2 separate regions of the Homo sapiens genome follow, and region 2 is linked to region 1. The links are contacts of gene promoters, found by promoter capture Hi-C in human tissues and cell types (Jung and others, 2019). All regions are on one chromosome and are shown on one strand. Each heading gives the region's core, a stretch centred on a gene start or on the middle of the fragment in contact. The rest is flanking DNA. Distances are from core to core; before and after follow the strand shown.

Evidence for each region. Contacts are between HindIII fragments. The study calls those that stand out against the background at their distance.
Region 2: the fragment with the promoter of TSSK4 here is called in contact with the fragment with the promoter of OXA1L in region 1 in 1 of the 25 tissues and cell types used here (aorta).

The regions. Positions count from the first base shown.
Region 1 is chr14:22,763,441-22,769,260 of GRCh38, forward strand. It overlaps OXA1L (OXA1L mitochondrial inner membrane insertase), which reads left to right and starts at 3,248. Exons shown (of 10, transcript NM_005015.5): 1 at 3,248-3,324; 2 at 3,808-3,969; 3 at 4,518-4,731. The coding sequence starts at 3,262. OXA1L-DT (OXA1L divergent transcript) reads right to left here and starts at 3,122. Exons shown (of 3, transcript XR_001750638.3): 1 at 2,984-3,122. RefSeq lists enhancers at 1,843-2,406, 2,407-2,969, 2,970-3,533, 3,127-3,356. The HindIII fragment of the contact is 11,434 bases long and covers 1-5,820 here.
Region 2 is chr14:24,203,040-24,208,859 of GRCh38, forward strand. TSSK4 (testis specific serine kinase 4) reads left to right here and starts at 2,657. Exons shown (of 4, transcript NM_001184739.2): 1 at 2,657-3,109; 2 at 3,470-3,684; 3 at 4,077-4,470; 4 at 4,925-5,209. The coding sequence starts at 2,885. The coding sequence ends at 5,107. RefSeq lists enhancers at 1-184, 1-289, 290-1,188. The HindIII fragment of the contact is 2,603 bases long and covers 1,063-3,665 here.

The sequences.
Region 1 (5,820 bases), core at 1,998-4,497:
GCAGGGTTTGAGAGGACTAACTCCAATTTTGAAAGAAGTTCTACCGTGGGTAAAATCCTTTCAAACAGCATCACATGCTATAGAGAAATCTTTCATGAAAAGCATAGTCAATTGATGCAGCAAACTTCATTGTCTTATTTTATGCCACCCCAACCTTCAGCAACCACCACCTTGATAGTCAACAAACATCAAGGCAAGACCCTCCACCAGTAAAAATATGACTTGCTGAAGGCTCAGATGATCATCAACATTTTTAAGCGATATAATATTTTCAAATTAAGGTATGTACATTGTTTTTTAAACATGTTATTGCACACTTAAGAGACTACAGTATAGTGTAAACATAACTTTTTCTTTTTTTTTTTTTGAGATGGAGTTTCACTCTTGTTGCCCAGGCTGGAGTGCAATGGCATGATCTCGGCTCACTGCAACCTCCACCTCCCAGGTTCAAGCAATTCTCCTGTTTCAACCTCCCAAGTAGCTGGGATTACAGGTGCCCACCACCACGCTTGGCTAATTTTTGTATTTTTAATAGAGACGGGTTTCACCATGTTGGCCAGGCTGGTCTCAAACTCCTGACCTCAAGTGATCCACCCACCTCGGCCTCCCAAAGTGCTAGGATTACAGGCATGAGCCACCACACCCGGCCTAGTATTTTTTTTTTTAAGAGATGGGGTCTTACCATGTTACCAAGGTTGGTCTCAAACTCCTGAGCTCAAGCGATCCACCTGCCTCAGCCTCCCAAAGTGCTGAGATTACAGGCCTGAGCCACCATGCCGGCCCAACATAACTTTTATATGCACTGCAAAACAAAAAAATCCCTGTGACTCACTTTATTATGATATTGGCTTTATTGTAGTGGTCTGGAACCCAACCCACAGTATCTTCCAAGTTTGCCTGTACATTTTAGCTATCTATTATTAAACAACTTAGTGGCTTAAAACTACAATAATTTTATTTATTTGCTTGTAATTTTGCAATGTGGGCTCAAATAGCCTTTCTTTGCTCCACACGCAGTCACCTGAGGTGGCTCCAGTGGGCTGGAGAATCCACTTTTTAAATGGCCTTCTTCACGTGGCTGGCAAAAGTTGGTGTTGACTGCTGGCTGGGAGTTCAACTGAGGCTGTTGGCCCAAACCTCAGTTCTTCTTCACATGGTTGGTTGGGCTTTTCACAGGCAGTAAGTCTGAGAAGTCAAACTTCTAACACAGCAGCTGGCTTCCCCCGAATGCAAAAACAGAAGCTATCAGGCCTTCTTAAGGCATAGTCCCAAACTGGCATAACATCACTTCCAACGCATTCTACTATTGATTAAAGCAAGTGACAGGCCCAATCAGACTCAAGAGAAGAGAACTCCTAAAGGTGCAAATATTGGGAAGCCTGGTTCATTTGGGGCCACCAAAGTAGCAGTGTACTGTAAGATAGTCACCCTGCCAAGTGTTCTGTAGCTGTATATTTGTAATTACTTCTAATTGTATTGAGTTTTAAAAGTAATCTCTAAAAAAAAATCAGTGTTTCCATATCAAAAATCTATTGATGTTTATAATAGCATCCAACATATGCAAGTGTTAGCTCATACCACTAATTATTACTAAATCAGTATTATAGTTCTTTGCCTCCTATTTTCGCCATATCTGTCAGGTACATTCATAATCGTTCCAAATGAGCAGTCACTGAAATAATTTCAGGTTATTGTATCTTTCTGAAACTATAATTTGTTGTTTAGAAAGTAATCTGCATATTGAGAGACTTTGTAAGGGTTCAAACATAATCAAACTCCACCTTTCTGACCAGTAACTTTTTTCCCTGAAGATGAATGCTTTTAACTTCAAGAAACAGAACACCCAAGCAACAGACTTAGAGTCTAAACAGTAAAGACCTTTAATCATCTTTTTTTTTTTTTTTTTGAGATGGAGTCTGTCGCCCAGGCTAGAGTGAGGTGGCTCCACCTCGGCTCACTGCAACCTCCACCTCCCGGATTCAAGCGATTCTCCTGCCTCAGCCTCCCTAGTAGCTGGGACTACAGGTATGCACCACCACGCCCGCCTAGTTATTTTGTTTTTTTGTTTTTTGTATTTTTAGTAGAGACAGGATTTCACCATGTTGGCCAGGCTGGTCTCGATCTCTTGACCTAGTTATCGAGACCACCTCAGCCTCCCAAAGTGATGAGATTACAGGTATGAGCCACTGCACCCGGCCAAGACCTTTAATTAACTTACACAACAAAGTCTGGAGATAGGCAGTTCCAAGCATGGTACAGCAGCTCAATGATATCATCAAGTATTTGGGTGTTTTCTATCTTTGCCCTCAACCATCTTCAGCACGTGAGTTTTTCTTTCCTTTTTTTTTTTTTTTTTGAGACGGAGTCTCGCTCTTGTTGCCCAGGCTGGAGTGCAGTGGCACAATCCCGGCTCACTGCAACCTCTGCATCCCGGGTTCAAGTGATTCTCCTGCCTCAGCCTCCCGAGTAGCTGGGATTACAGGCGCCCACCACCACGCCCGGCTAATTTTTGTATTTTTAGTAGAAATGGGGTTTCACCATGTTGGCCAGGATGGTCTCGACCTCCTGATCTCGTGATCCACCCACCTCGGCCTCCCAAAGTACTGGGATTACAGACCTGAGCCACCGCGCCCGGCCTGCACGTGAGCTTTTCATCTGGAAACTTGTCCCCTCATGGTCAGTCCTCACACCACCCCACTTACAGAAGAAAAAAATGGAAAGGTGAAGTCTCCTCTGGAAGCTTCGTCTTTTTATCTGGGAGGAAAATATTTCCCAGAAGCTGCCTTCTTTTAATTTCTGTCAGACTCTAGACTACCCTCAAATTTCACTGGACCTGCGATTACAATATTACCTAGCAATAAGAATCAAAAGAATCGAACATCATTGAGTGGGAAAAATCCTCTGCAAGTACAGCCAAGCCTTTTCTGAGGCTATTTTTAAACTTACAAATCAGAGGACAATCGCGACATTAGAGGAAAATTACCCAGGTTTACGCCATCACTAACGATGATAGCTTACGATGATAGCTAACCCAGCTCTTCAACTTCCTTTCAATCTCCAGAAAAGGCTCTCTGCGTGCTAATGGTAACGTGGCTTTACAGATTTTTACCCACTTCAAATATGGCCGCCAAGCTCCGTTCTCTTTTACCGCCTGATCTGCGGCTACAATTCTGGCTTCATGCCCGCCTCCAAAAGTGCTTCCTCTCGAGGGGTTGTGGTTCTTACTGCGCAGGCGCAAAAGCAAGTCCTCTTCCGGGCAAAATGGCGATGGGACTAATGTGCGGACGCCGGGAGCTTCTGCGCTTGCTACAGTCCGGGCGTCGGGTAAGGATGCCCCGGGGCAGAGCACCGGGATGCTGCCCTGACCCAGTGAACCAGGCCCCAGGACAGCTCGTGCTAGGGGTATCAGCAGACGCTGACCTGCTCACCGGGACCTGAATGTCATGACCTCGGGTCATGTGAGGACGCGCTAGGGTTAGTCCCCGACACTATGGGCCCAGCAGCCCGGTGTCAGCTTCTGGAATTGGCTTGGCTCCTGGCGAGAGCACCTCGGCCTCGTTCTCAGGGCCCTCCGATGTGGGTCTGCGATAACTGAGATGCGGGGAACCCAGGTTCGAGCTTCGCTCTGCAGGCACCACCCGCTGCATGCCTTCGGGCTAGCGGTCTGCGCGCGGTGATAGCAATGTCCTCCCCTGTAGTGGCCGAGCTGCCTGCTTCTTGGGGAGTTAGCATAATGAATCCCGTTTGCACCCACGCGAGGACTTCTGCTCCCGGTAAAGGGGCTCCATCATCCTTTTACACGCTCAGGTCCACAGCGTCGCAGGGCCCTCGCAATGGCTTGGGAAACCGCTGACCACACGGCTCCTATTCCCAGCAGCCCCGTGCTGCTGTCGCCCACACTACCTCTTCCTTGCGGCTTCCGGCCCCCGCAGCCTCAGTACCTCTGCTATCTCTTTTGCAGAAGTCCAGGTAAGAGGCCTTTCGTTCCTGCAATATTAGGAGTGGTGTTTCCTGGTTGGTTTCATATTTTGTTTTGTTTGGGAGCAGGGGGAATATGGAGCAGAGTTCTTGTCCACGCTCCACACAGCTCTCCAAAATGATAGCATCTCTGCTTAGGATGGATTTTCAATTCAGTGGGGAAATGATTGAAAGTACAACAGGAGAGATGTTATATTTGGTTTTCTGAGCTGTTTTAAAGAAAAGCAATTGTTTCATGTTAATATATGGCAAAAATCATGATAGTGATATTCAAATGGCTGAAGTTTGGAAAACAGTGATAAAAGAAATAACTTCCCAGCATGAAGGGAAGTCATGGATTCTTACTCAAAGTAACTTCTCTTCCTAACTATTGATAAAAATGAGATGTCCTTTTTAAGCTTGAAATCTGCAGACACTAGGCTAACCTGGAAGAACAAGAAGTAGAGAGAACAGAACCCAGTACTGGTTATTATAAAAAGATCTCACTTGCTTTGTGTTCGCTACTGAATAAATATAATACAAGGCTTTCTTTCACACAGGTTCAGGCCCCTCCTGTTGTTGCTGCAACTCCCTCACCCACAGCAGTACCTGAGGTGGCTTCTGGAGAGACTGCAGATGTAGTCCAAACTGCTGCAGAGCAGAGCTTCGCTGAACTGGGGCTGGGGTCATACACCCCAGTGGGACTGATCCAGAATTTACTGGAATTTATGCATGTTGATCTGGGCCTACCTTGGTGGGGGGCCATTGCTGCATGTAAGGGGAATATACCCTGGACATGGGTTAGGGATTTAACCTCATAGATGGCAATTCTTTGAATGGATTCAGGAAGTAGTTGCAGAAGCTCTGGGGTCAGAAGAGCAGATGATTTCAAATGAGCAATAGAGGTTCATGATACCTAGATGCACTCTGCCTATATTTCTTAAAGAGCATTATAAAACCACCAGATCATCTGGGATTCAAGAAGTGTAGATATTTGAATACAAACATGGGGTTAGAGTCAGGGGACCTTATTAACAGTCATGAAGCTATCCTGGTTTAGAACAGAGGTTCAGGTCAGGCACTTAAACCCCTAAATTGGGAAGCCACTAGCATTGCTTTTGTAAAGGCTAGAACTCTGCTTTGAATTATGTGTCTTTCTGCCACGTTGCTCCATCAATTATCTTTTCTCCCCTGTGTCTTCAGCATTTCCCTCCTCACTGCCCTACCCCGAACATGTAAACATGCTCAGGCACACCCATGTGTTACCTGGGGGAAGGTTTCTTCCCTTCATCCTTAGTTCCCCTTCACTTACTATCCTATCTTCTTCCTTTGATGGCTGTTATTTATTTTGTTGTTGTTAATTTTTGTGGATACCTAGTAGGTGTATATATTTATGGGCTACATGAGATGTTTTGATAGAGGCATGCAAGGTGTAATAATCACATTATGGAGAATGAGATATCCATCCCCTTAAGCATTTATCCTTTAAGTTACAAACAATCCAATTACACTTTTATTTTATTTTTTATTTTATTTATTTTTTTAAACGGAGTCTTGCTCTGTCACCCAGGCTGGAGTGCAGTGGTGCAGTCTCAGCTCACTGCAACCTCCACCTCCCAGGTTCTAGCGATTCTCATGTCTCAGCCTCTCAAGTAGCTGGGACTACAGGTGTGCCACCACACCTGGCTAATTTTTACGTTCTTTATTTAAAAATATGCTATTATTACTGACTATAGTCACCCTGTTGTGCAATCAATAGTAGATCTTATTCTAACTTTTTTTTACCCATTAACTATTCCCAACCCTGACTACCCTTCCCAGCCTCTGGTACCTTCCTTCTACTCTCTGCCCATGATTTCATTT
Region 2 (5,820 bases), core at 1,407-3,906, 1.4 Mb after region 1:
CTTATCCATGCAGCTTAGATTCCGCATTCCATTTCAGCCACATTCTTGCGTATGTTCTTGATGCCCCTCTCCCATTGTTTCATTGCAGCTGCCAAGCAAAACCCTAAATCATCCATCAACATTCAAGTACCTATAACCAAGATGCTAAAAGAATCACAACACTATATGTGTCTATGGACAAGTTGTTCTCCAACCTCAGTTGGGCCCTCAATGCTGCTCATTTTCTAAACCAGCTCTTTTCTATTCTCCACACTTCATCTGTCTTCTCATCATTTGACCTCCCTATATAGCTTAGTGGGAGATGCAAGCAACAGAAGCAATTACAGACACTATGTTAGGTGCTGTGACAGACAAAGTATTGGGCCTGTGGGAGCACCCAGGAAGAAGGAATATCTAACTGAAGCTTGAGCAGTCAGTTAAGCCTTCTTTAAAACAGCTCCACTGGGCGCGGTGGCTCACGGCTATAATCCCAGCACTTTGGGAGGCTGAGGCAGGCAGATCACCTGAGGTTGGGAGTTCGAGACCAGCCTGACCAACATGGAGAAACCCCGTCTCTACTAAAAAATACAAAATTAGCCAGGCGTGGTGGTGCATGCCTGTAATCCCAGCTACTCGGGAGGCTGAGGCGGGAGAATGGCTTGAACCCGGGAGGTGGAGGTTGCGGTGAGCCGAGATTGTGCCATTGCACTCCAGCCTGGGCAACAAGAGCGAAACTCCATCTCAAAACAAAAACAGACGGGGCGCGGTGGCTCATGCCTATAATCCCAGCACTTTGGGAGGCCAAGGTGGGCAGATCACCTGAGGTCGGGAGTTCAAGACCTGCCTGACCAACATGGAGAAACCCTGTCTCTACTAAACATACAAAATAGCTAGGCATGGTGGTGCATGTCTGTAATCCTAGCTACTAGGGAGGGTGAGGCAGGAGAATCGCTTGAACCCAGGAGTTGGAGGTTGTAGTGAGCCAAGATCGTGCCATTGCACTCCAGCCTGGGCAACAAGAGCGAAACTCCATCTCAAAAAAAAAAAAAGAGAAAAAAGGTCCTATGCCAAGTTCTCAAGGAAGATTTGGAGTTTGCCACAAATACAGAAAAGCAGTTGTGGATCATTACGTGTGTGTTAAAAAATAAAATTGGGGAGGTAAGCAGGATCAGACTTAAAGCTGTGTGAAAGAATTTGGATGGACTTGATCCTAAAGAGAATGGGGAGACACTGAATTGTTTCAAATGGAAATAAAATCAGATTTATGCTTTGGACTTGGGATGGACAGACTGGAGTGGAGCAGAAGGCTGGCGGGGGCCATCTGTTCGATGATGGAGGCGTGAACTAAGGGATTAGCAGTGGGCTCAGAAAACCATGAGAATATTATCAAAGAGAGAATCAGGAGGTATAAGAGATAGGATTTCGTGATAGATTGAATGTAGGGACTGAGGCAGGAGGGTCTGGGATGACATATGAGTGTCTAAATTAAGGGTGATTAGTGTACAACTCACAGAAAAGTCTGAGAGAAGAAAATAAGTTCAATTATTGATATGGTTAAGTTTGAGATGGATATGGTAAGTTCCATGCCTGGGGCAGACATGGCCACGTAATACTGGCTGCTCTATCTAAACTCCAGATATATGGGATGGAGATGAAATTAGGAGCAGTCAGCATAAATGTAGTATTGACACCATGGGTATGGACAAGATTAAGGGAGGATGTGAAGGTTTGAGAAAATAAAGCTTGTGATGTAACACTTGGGATATGATTAAGGGATGGATAGAGAAAGATATAACTTCAGTGAAGGCTGAGGAGTGACCAGAAGGATGTGGAGGAAAACTAGAGAGTTCTGGCTCATAGAAGATAAGGATGCATTTCAAGGTTAGATTTTCCTAGAACATGTTCAATACCTTACAATGGTAATACTTTCACACTCGTATTTCTCATGCTGCATTATAAGCTTTAGGATCATAGTGTCTCTATTGGCCTTATTGAACTAAGGGGGCTGCAATGGGCTCGGAAAGCCTTGAGTGTATCATTAAAGAGATAAGTAGGAGATAGCAGAGACAGGATTTGATGAAAGATTGTATGTAGGGATTGAGGAAGGAGGAAGGGTCTGGCATGACATTTGGGTGACATTTTATCCAAGTATTCAGCACAGTGTCTGGTACTTAGTAGGTACTCATATATCAATGAAAGGTCTGATCTTTAGGAGTTTCACCAGACTGTGGAAGGTGCCTCTGGGAATGAGTACGTTTCCAACTGCACTTCATTCTCTTTTTTTTTTTTTTTTTTTTTGAGACGGAGTCTCGCTCTGTCGCCCAGGCTGGAGTGCAGTGGCGCAATCTCGGCTCACTGCAAGCTCTGCCTCCCAGGTTCACGCCATTCTCCTGCCTCAGCCTCCCAAGTAGCTGGGACTACAGGCGCCCGCCACTACGCCCGGCTAATTTTTTGTATTTTTAGTAGAGACGGGGTTTCACCGTTTTAGCCGGGATGGTCTCGATCTCCTGACCTCGTGATCCGCCCGCCTCGGCCTCCCAAAGTGCTGGGATTACAGGCGTGAGCCACCGCGCCCGGCCGCACTTCATTCTCAAGTTTTGTGGCCAACGATGGATAGGAGGTGGATTGTGATGTATTCGGAACATGGGACCTTGAGGAGTTCCGTAACCAAAAGGAGAAAGTAACAACAGCCAGTGGAGACAAAAAGAACTGCTTCTCTTTCTTTCCCCCTCCAAGTTCCTAGTGGAGGGCTGAGTCCAGCATCCCAGACTCGTGTGACTATATAGGCAAGCATTTGGGGACCTACTTCACTTTGATACCCTAGCCTTCAGCAGCTCAAGGTGTTGGCCTTTGGATAGGAGGCTTCCAAGTAGTAAAGCTCCCTGCTCTCAGCAAGCCCAACACCATGGGGAAGGGAGATGTCTTAGAGGCAGCACCAACCACCACAGCCTACCATTCCCTCATGGATGAATATGGTTATGAGGTGGGCAAGGCCATTGGCCATGGCTCCTATGGGTCGGTATATGAGGCTTTCTACACAAAGCAGAAGGTTATGGTGGCAGTCAAGATCATCTCAAAGAAGAAGGCCTCTGATGACTATCTTAACAAGTTCCTGCCCCGTGAAATACAGGTTGGAAAGGGGGCTGGAAGAGGGAACTGGAGCTTGGTACTAAGCTGCTTGAGGTTTCTCAGAAGGGGTATGGCCAGGAGGGGTGGGGCCAGAAACCCCTAAACCAGAACTGAAATGTCTCACTAAGCAGCTAGGAAACTTTATGTAAGTTAAACCTCTTTCCCATCCACCCACTCACCTTCAGTCCCCAAAAAGTAAAGGCACAAAACATAGCATTTGCCCACAGGCCACCAGTTCTCTGGGGTTGAGGGGCTGATCCTATTGCAAAGTCCTAAGTCAGTAGCTGAGGGTAGGAGACGGCTGGGAGTGCAGTCAGGGTTCTCCCTTCCCAGGTTTGATGGGTCCTTCTTCTGGGGTCAGGTAATGAAAGTCTTGCGGCACAAGTACCTCATCAACTTCTATCGGGCCATTGAGAGCACATCTCGAGTATACATCATTCTGGAACTGGCTCAGGGTGGTGATGTCCTTGAATGGATCCAGCGCTACGGGGCCTGCTCTGAGCCCCTTGCTGGCAAGTGGTTCTCCCAGCTGACCCTGGGCATTGCCTACCTGCACAGCAAGAGCATCGTGCACCGGTGAGGGCGCTGCCACCCAGACTGGGGCCTTTGCCCTCAAGGGGGTTTTATGCACATCTCCCATTTCCTGTCCTTTTTTCCTCTTTCGAACTCCCTCCTCAATATCTAGCCTATTCATGCACTCTATTTTAATCATATGGTCAAGGATACTGATAAAGTACTCACTGTATGCAAAGCATTTTATGAAATACAATGGTGAGCTCCCGGTGGTCCTCAGATACCATCCTCTGTCTCTCTCCCTACTTTGGGCTCTGCTCACAACTCCATGGCTTTCCTTCCTCTCTACCTTGTGCCCTCATAATGGTTTCTACCTCCCACTTCCTCTGTCCTCATCTTTACCCTCTGACCCCTGGCCCTTCAGCTCCCAGTCTAAAACTAAGCCCTCTCCCCAGCCTGATGCCCAGCCTTTCTGCTGCTGGTAGGGACTTAAAGTTGGAGAACCTGTTGCTGGACAAGTGGGAGAATGTGAAGATATCAGACTTTGGCTTTGCCAAGATGGTGCCTTCTAACCAGCCTGTGGGTTGTAGCCCTTCTTACCGCCAAGTGAACTGCTTTTCCCACCTCAGCCAGACTTACTGTGGCAGCTTTGCTTACGCTTGCCCAGAGATCTTACGAGGCTTGCCCTACAACCCTTTCCTGTCTGACACCTGGAGCATGGGCGTCATCCTTTACACTCTAGTGGTCGCCCATCTGCCCTTTGATGACACCAATCTCAAAAAGCTGCTAAGAGAGACTCAGAAGGAGGTCACTTTCCCAGCTAACCATACCATCTCCCAGGAGTGCAAGGTACTGGCTACCTAAGGAGGGCTGAGCCTTCAGGGATGACCCACAGGGAGGGGTGAATATCCAACCTAGGTCACCCAACCTAGGCCTCCCAACCCTGGGGAAAGGCTCTTCCCACACCAGAGCCATCTCACACACTAGCTCCTGTCCTATAATAAACAGTATGGAAGGCATAAAGGGCCAACCACTAGGCTCCAAACCTTGCCTGATACACAGGTTCCAGCTTCTTTCTCTTTAGGCCAGAAGGGAAATATGGAAAGCATTCCTCCCAAGGAACTCTTCCCTTCCCCTCCAGGGAGTTAACTGCCTGGGTCTCCAAGATAAAATCAGAGCCACACCCACTTTGACCAGAGTGGTATGATGGGCTATCCTGCTTCTTTCTTAGGTCCAACTGCTCATTGCCTGTGTGGCACAATGGAGAAAAACTCAGGCAAGACCTCTCTCTCCCCTGCTCTAGAACCTGATCCTCCAGATGCTACGCCAAGCCACTAAGCGTGCCACCATTCTGGACATCATCAAGGATTCCTGGGTGCTCAAGTTCCAGCCTGAGCAACCCACCCATGAGATCAGGCTGCTTGAGGCCATGTGCCAGCTCCACAACACCACTAAACAGCACCAATCCTTGCAAATTACGACCTGAAAATGGCTGAGGGAGGGGGCTAAGAGAGGAGCAAAGCAGGAGGTCTTGGGCTAAAAATCTTTTTTACCAAAAATAAATCTAAGTCTGATTTAGTTTCATCAACTAGGGTCAAAGACATTCTTTTCTCAAGGCAATCTTATAGCAGGGAACACTGCTGGAGTAAGAGATAGATTTCTGCCCAGAGCCTGTAACCAATAATCTTGACACTGTGTTAAATCAATAGTGTAATTCATGATGTGGCTCTTAGGGGATGGGGTGCTCAGATTAACGCTCTATTTTGGGAAGCTTTATTATTCAACTCAACATATGCTCATTATTTTACATCTTTGTGCTGTTTAAATGCTCAAGTAGTGGGGTAAAAGCCCTGGTTCTTCCACTTTGATTATGGCTCTGCCTGTCTATAGTCCAAAGTAATGGCACTGTTAGTTCTTTTAGAAATGGGTATTCGAGCTGGGTGCGGTGGCTCACGCCTGTAATCCCAACACTTTGGGGGGCCGAGGCGGGCAGATCACTTGAGGTCAAGAGTTCGAGACCAGACTGGCCAACATGGCAAAACCCTGTCTCTATGAAAAATACAAAAATTAGCCGGGCATAGTGGCACCTGGCTGAGGCAGGAGAATCACTTGAACCCGGGATGCAGGGGTTGCAGTGAGCCGAGATCGCGCCACTGCACTCCAGCCTGGGCGACAAAGTGAGACTCTGTCTCAAAAAAA